2 separate regions of the Homo sapiens genome follow, and region 2 is linked to region 1. Evidence: promoter capture Hi-C in human tissues and cell types (Jung and others, 2019). All regions are on one chromosome and are shown on one strand. Each heading gives the region's core, a stretch centred on a gene start or on the middle of the fragment in contact. The rest is flanking DNA. Distances are from core to core; before and after follow the strand shown. Region 1 holds the start of PNP (purine nucleoside phosphorylase). Region 2 holds the start of RAB2B (RAB2B, member RAS oncogene family).

Evidence for each region. The method cuts DNA at HindIII sites, captures the fragments that hold promoters and counts their contacts. A contact is called where the count stands out against the background at its distance.
Region 2: the fragment with the promoter of RAB2B here is called in contact with the fragment with the promoter of PNP in region 1 in 1 of the 25 tissues and cell types used here (stomach).

The regions. Positions count from the first base shown.
Region 1 is chr14:20,468,011-20,471,550 of GRCh38, forward strand. PNP (purine nucleoside phosphorylase) reads left to right here and starts at 1,396. Exons shown (of 6, transcript NM_000270.4): 1 at 1,396-1,525. The coding sequence starts at 1,515. RefSeq lists enhancers at 1,163-1,667, 1,858-1,927, 1,958-2,087 and a silencer at 1,328-1,447. The HindIII fragment of the contact is 8,414 bases long and covers 1-2,997 here.
Region 2 is chr14:21,475,487-21,478,597 of GRCh38, forward strand. It overlaps RAB2B (RAB2B, member RAS oncogene family), which reads right to left and starts at 1,473. Exons shown (of 8, transcript NM_032846.4): 1 at 1,341-1,473; 2 at 1,042-1,113. The coding sequence starts at 1,386. TOX4 (TOX high mobility group box family member 4) reads left to right here and starts at 1,709. Exons shown (of 9, transcript NM_014828.4): 1 at 1,709-1,798; 2 at 2,010-2,078. The coding sequence starts at 1,793. RefSeq lists enhancers at 890-1,009, 1,590-1,659. The HindIII fragment of the contact is 11,571 bases long and covers 1-3,111 here.

The sequences.
Region 1 (3,540 bases), core at 146-2,645:
ACAACATATCTTTACAAAAGATGGTTTTAGAAGGTCCCTCTGATAAAAATTAAGTATTAAGTAAAAAAAAAAAGTACTGTGTAAAAATCAGCATGGAACAGAAAATGAGGGTGGCAGCATTGGATTCCTGCATGTGAGAAGTTGAGTAGTGCCAAACAGATGTACATATCCCGTAAGTAACTGTTTGTGGTTATTTAAGAACGAAATTTTTTTTTCAATTTGTGTGCATTGTTATTTTCAAAGTGCTAGTAAGTTCTCAGGAACCAGCTACTCACTCTGTTGCCCAGGCTGGAGTGCAATGGTGTGATCTCAGGTCACTGCAACCTCCACCTCCCGGGTTCAAGCCATTCTCCCTGCCTCAGCCTCCCAAGTAGCTGGGATTACAGGCGCCTGCCACCACGCCCAGCTAATTTTTTGTATTTTTAGTACAGATGGGGTTTTGCCTTGTTGGCCAGGCTGGTCTCCGACACCTGACCTCAGGTGATCCACCCACCTCGGCCTCCCAAAGTGCTGGGATTACCGGCGTGAGCCACCGCGCCTGGCCTTTATATATAAATTTTTTTTTAATTTTTTAAATTAAAAATTAAATGTAAATTTAATGTAAAAATGTAAATTAAATGTAAAAATTAAATTGTAAATGTGGGCAGAAGTAATAGTTGTATTCTACCAAAGACACGCTATTTATGTTATATTCTGGTACCCGTGTATTCCGATAACAGAATTTTCTTCGTGGGAGGAGTCCTCTAGTTACCTGAATTGCTTGGATCAATATTGCGCAGATCAAGGGATTATCTGTGTCCCTACCCACCAAATCCATCCTTATCCTTTCTGTCGGCATCTAGGACCCCGGAATTCTTGCCTGAGAACTTTTTCTTCTCCCGGTCTGGGCCTGGATGTGCTCTCCTAAACCCTGTATCCTCCAAGTTAGCACTGTTGCCGGGGGCGACCCAGCTTCCCTTGTCCAGGGAGCAACTCAGACACAGTCTCGCTTCATTTTTATTCTGGGGTTGTACAATCTAAGGTATGAAATTTTTCCTTTTTGAATCTCTCACGGTTTGCTATTGACACAGCTGGAATGAGGTTGCAAGGAGAGGGCTGGGGGCTCTCCTCCCTACTTCTAGCCCTATTTCCGCATAGGCCTTCTTGCTGGGAACTCCTGCCCTGCGGACTGGAATGGGTACCGAGATGAAATGCTGGGTGCGCTCCGGCTCCCCCCGCCCGCCCCGGGGCAGAAGGTTTAGGGCTGGGAAGAACTCTGATTAGGTTTACAGCCCAGGTTCAGCCGATTGAATTAGGGTGTGTCACCATGGAGACAGGGCCGGCCCGCGTGCTCGCTTGCCATTGGCTGGGGACTCCAGGGCAAGGGATATAAGCCAGAGCCTAGACCAGTGAGCCAACTGTGCGAACCAGACCCGGCAGCCTTGCTCAGTTCAGCATAGCGGAGCGGATCCGATCGGATCGGAGCGGATCGGAGCACACCGGAGCAGGCTCATCGAGAAGGCGTCTGCGAGACCATGGAGAACGGGTGAGGAGGGCACCAGGCCCGCAGGACCCTTGGGGAGGGGCAGGTGCTGTGACCCGGGAACCTGGCACACTGGGCCCAGAGGGAGCTGGCGGAGGGAGCGAGCGCCCAGGGGATGCAGAGAGGCCTGGCACTGAGCCTAGTGTCGGGAGCAAGGCGGCAGAGTCATGCGGCAGCCAGCGCGGGCAGGGACGCACGCGGGAATCGAGCTGGGGTGGCGCCACCGGAGCAGGAAGGGGACAGGTCGGTGCGGTCTAAGCTACTCCGTAAAAGCAGCCGTTGTGTGTCTCCGTGTGTGTGTTAGGGGAACAAGTGGAGAGTGAGTATATGTATATATCCCTCACTCCATACCAGGAGGAGGTCTCCTCACCCCCTGCGCTCTTCATAAATTCCCATGCTAGGGTCTGGGTAAAGCTGCGAGGTACTTTTGGTGCTCAAATTCGGAGTTCCTCCTTTAGAGGCAAGATTACTCACCTCCTTTGCCAGTTGCACTCCTCCCTTCCTTCCAGACTGGCAGTATGATTAACTCGGTGGGAAGTGACTGCTAAGTGGAGACGGAAATCAGTCACCGAACTGAGCAACAGTCCTGTGCTCACTTCCCCCACCCCACGCCTTTGAAAACTCTTCTCTCGGCTTGGGTCCTGGATATCCCAGTCCAAGTGACCTGCATTAGGCATCACAGTTGCTTTTGGATGCCCAGGGAGCCAGGGTGTTCTTGAGGGGACTGATAGCCAATGAGGAAGTGCTGTGAGATGTGGCTAGACATGCCATGTGGCGGCAGCTTCACACATTCATTTCCTTTGCACCTTTTGGGGATGCCATTTGATTAACATTTTACCAGCTTAATTGCTTCTCTCCATTGTCCTGTGGCTCCGTTGACCAGCCCCCAACCTACCTGATCCAACTGCTTCCCTGAGGGTAGCCTGGTGTATTGTGCAATCATGTCTGGTTTCCCGGGCTCTGCTTTCCAAGTAAAAAATTTCCTGTGAAAGCTTGGTTAGTTGTGTTCAGCTCTGTCACACCTCATTGCCACCTCTGAAAGCAACGTTTGGTCTTCCCAGATGGATGTGAGAGAACTGGACTTGGAACTGGGAGAAAAGTAACACGGGTTGATTCTTGCTAGTGTAGGGGTTCTGGGTAAGTGCCCTGAGGTTTCTGAAGAGCAAAGATCCTCGGTGGAGAGAAAGGAAACTGGGAGGAGGCAGGGAGGGGGAAGGACAGGAAGAAGACCACAGGCAGGTGGAAAGCAGGAGAAAGATTCAAATACTTTGTGTAACAGAGCCATAGGTCTTTGGAAGTTGTTAGCAAGTATTCAATTCATTTTCAGATTGAGCCTATAAGATAGATGGGGCCAATTTACATCCCTTGTTTATACCTGAGAAAATAATTTAAAGCACAAATTACATGCCTAAAAAGACAATATTGGGACTAGAATCTAGGTCGAATTCTGCTTCCCTCCAGACCAGCAATTCCTAAACCTGGTTTTATTTTATTTTATTTTTATTTATTTATTTTGGAGTCGGAGTCTCGCTCTGTCTCCCAGGCTGGAGTTCAGTGGAGCGATCTTGGCTCACTGCAACCTCTGCCTCCCGGGTTCACACCATTCTACTGCCTCAGCCTCCCGTGTAGCTAGGACTACAGGGGCCCGCCACCACGCCCGGCTAATTTTTTTTTTTTTTTTTTTTTTTTTGTATTTTTAGTAGAGACGGGGTTTCAACATGTTAGCCAGGATGGTCTCGATCTCCTGACCTCGTGATCCGCCCACCTCGGCCTCCCAAAGTGCTGGGGTTACAGGCATGAGCCACCGCGCCCAGCCCCTAAACCTGGTTTTAAAATCAAAATTACATGGGCTTCAGAATCTGTTTTTTGTGGGGGTTTTGTGTGTGTGTGTGTGTGTGTTTTTTATAGGGTCTCACTCTGTCACCAGGCTGGAGTGCCAGAATCTGTTTTTCTAACAAGCTTCTGCTGAGAATTTGTGTAGTCAGTCCTGGTTTAACCTTTGACAACCAGTACTGTGG
Region 2 (3,111 bases), core at 223-2,722, 1.0 Mb after region 1:
GTGGTGCGATCTCAGCTCACTGCAGCCTCCACCTCCTGAGTTCAAGTGATTCTCCTGCCTCAGCCTCCCAAGTAAGTACCTTACAGGCACACGCCACAACGCCCACCTAATTTTTTTAACAATACATTTTACATTTCCAATAATTGCCAGAGGCACAATTAAGCATTGTTGCCTTGTTAAGCATTGTATCATTAGCCCCTATCGCAAAGTGAGAATTCGCTCAATATTCCCTTTAAAATACCTTTTAGTTGATACTGCCAAATCCTTTTCTAACCCCATCAATTATTTGACTCTAAATAAATCCGTTAGGAACAGTGGTAGCTTCAGGTTTCCATACAGGTGGGACTTGGAAGTAGCAATATGGTAAGAATGGGGATGTAGGGGTTTATTTAGAAACTGCATTTGCATGGCAAGAAAGCTAGTTTCATATATGTTGTTTATTTGGACTGGGGTTACGGAGATAACGAAGAGGGGGTAGTTAAAAGCCTCTTCAGGCCATGCCTTATCACAAACGTGTGGGAAAGGTTAATATTTTCCAGGATCGCCAGTGCGTTTGAGGAACTGTTAACACACTCTTTCATTTAAAAGGAAAGTTTTTAGTTTTATTTGCCTATTAATTCTAAGGCAGGGATGACTCCTCAATTTGCTTCTTCACCAATATAAAAAATGTCCATGTATTGGTGTTTACTTTTTAAAAGTAAGGCTGGTATTAATTTACCTCAAAGCACAGATGAGTTCATAAATAAGCAGTTATGCTTTCGTGGGATTTTCCATAAACATACAAATTGTATTTGAAAAAAAATTATATGACGAGTCTATACCTCACACTCTAAAAAGTTACCTTTCAATTATATACTCTCCCTTACACTACTCCCCACATATCAACGTTTCATTGGTCACTTCATTAACATAAGTTTGGACTAGTTTAAAGTAGTGAGGGGTAACTTTTTACTTCGAACACTGAAGGCTGCTAACTTTCCACTTTAGCAATTTAGCTAGTCAGGTTTTATCATCTGTTCTGGAACAAGTAGATGCACTTACCTATTGTGAGGTCGTGGACAGGCTGGAACCGCTTATCTGTAAACTGCAGGAGGAGACATGACTTCCCCACACCTGAAAGAGAAAGCACACTCCCGGAATCACGCAGCCCTGGAACACCTTCCAGAGTATGGACTTCCCGGACCAGAGAAGGGGGGCTCCCGAGCCCCGCCCCCGGCCGCCCCGAACCGCCCCGCCCGTCTCGAATCGCCCAGCCCACAAAGTGAGCCCCGCCCCCGCCACCCAATTTGGGAGCTTCGAATGCCCGCCCGAGCCTTGAAGGCGAACCACCTGAGGGTTACCTGTGTCTCCGATGATGATATACTTGAAGAGATAAGCATAAGTCATGGTGTCGCGTCCTCTGGGTTCCGGGTCCGCCCGACTTCTATAGCCACTTACCTCCGACCTCTCTAGCCACTCAATCTACCGATCTTCTTCTTCTCCCCCTTCCCCCCGCTCCCCCGCCCCTCCGGCTCCTCTAGCCCAGATCACGTCTCTATTGCACTCCCCGGAATCATCCTTAGGTCGGGAGTACCCTACGCCACCTCCAGGGACGCTTCTAGCACTTCTACATGCCCTTATCCCTCCAAACTCCAGGGGGCGATAGCCCAGCGCCTGACTCTCTGCAGCCCCACGGCGCTCCTTCCAATCAGCAGAGAGAACACACGTCCTTGCGGAAGTGACGGCAGTTCCGAGTCCAGTGGGGGCGGTGGGAGCGATGAGGGTCTGAGACGGTGGGAGCGGTTGTGTGAAGATGGAGGTAGGAACCTGATAGCTAAGAAGGCTGGCGAGAGAACGCGGCCGACCGGGTTGAAGCAGGGACGGGAAGCCGGGCGGAGAGGCGACTGACGGGAGAGGAGAGAGAGCGGGGTTTGGGGAGTGTTGTCAGAATGTCAGGGTCAAAAGCCATCGCTCCAAGCTGACTCCCTGCTCCCCCTAACTTATCCCCGCGACTTTCTTTTGGTTTCCAGTTTCCCGGAGGAAATGACAATTACCTGACGATCACAGGGCCTTCGCACCCCTTCCTGTCAGGGGCCGAGGTGAGCCAGAGCTGCCGACGCCGCGGGGGTAGGGCCTGAGGCAGCGGTGGGGTAGGGTAGTGGGGAGGAGAGCACGGACTCCGGGGACGGGGGCTGGGAACCAAGGGCCGCAATTGGTGTTTAGAGAAAAGTGGCGGTTGCTTCTAGAGCCTGTGGGGACTATCTGGGGAAGTCTTGGGAAGTTGCTGTCATCAGAAAGCAAGGTATTGGAAAGAGATAACCTGTTTAAAGAGAAAAGGGATTCTGGATTAGAAGACAGAGTGGAATTGTCTCCTTTCTCTGGGGAGAAATAGCTACAGTAATCTTAGGGGATCGCAGTGGAAAGAAAATGTTTCAGCAGCTGAAGAAATTGGGGTTGAGGGGAGGAGCTTATTGGTTTTCTTTTGTTTTGAGACAGAGTCTCGCTTTATCGCCCAGGTTGAAGTGCAGTGGTGCGATCTCGGCTCACTGCAACCTCTGTCTCCTGGGTTCAAGCGATTCTCCTGCCTCAGCCTCCCGAGTAGCTGGGATTACAGGCGTGCGCCACCACGCTCGGCTAATTTTTGTATATTTAGTAGAGATGGCAGTTTCACCATATTGGCCAGGCTGGTTTCGAACTCCTGACCTCAGGTGATCCACCCACCTCGGCCTCCCGGAGTGCTGGGATTACAGGCCTGAGCCATTGCGCCCGGCCTAAATTTCCTACTTTGATAAAAAATTTGTGGTTACCTTTACCTACATGGTGTCAGCTTGTTTTGCTAATGTCAGGAGGAAAGGAAATAGCTGCTAGAGAATATAAAAGAGTTGAGTAGGACATGTGTTTCAATTTGCCAGTGACTCAGACGTTGGGCACATTACTTCATCTTTGTATGTCACAGTTTCCCCAGCTGTCAAACAGCTGTAATTATAGTTTCTTATGCTGTTTTAAAGTAGAAGTAAAGGTTATGATGAAACCCTGAAGTGTTCGTTAAAAAAGTTTGGTTGAAATATTGTCATAATATAGATATGTATCACTTGTTTGGGAGAGGCAAAAGAGAATGGTGGAACAGACAAA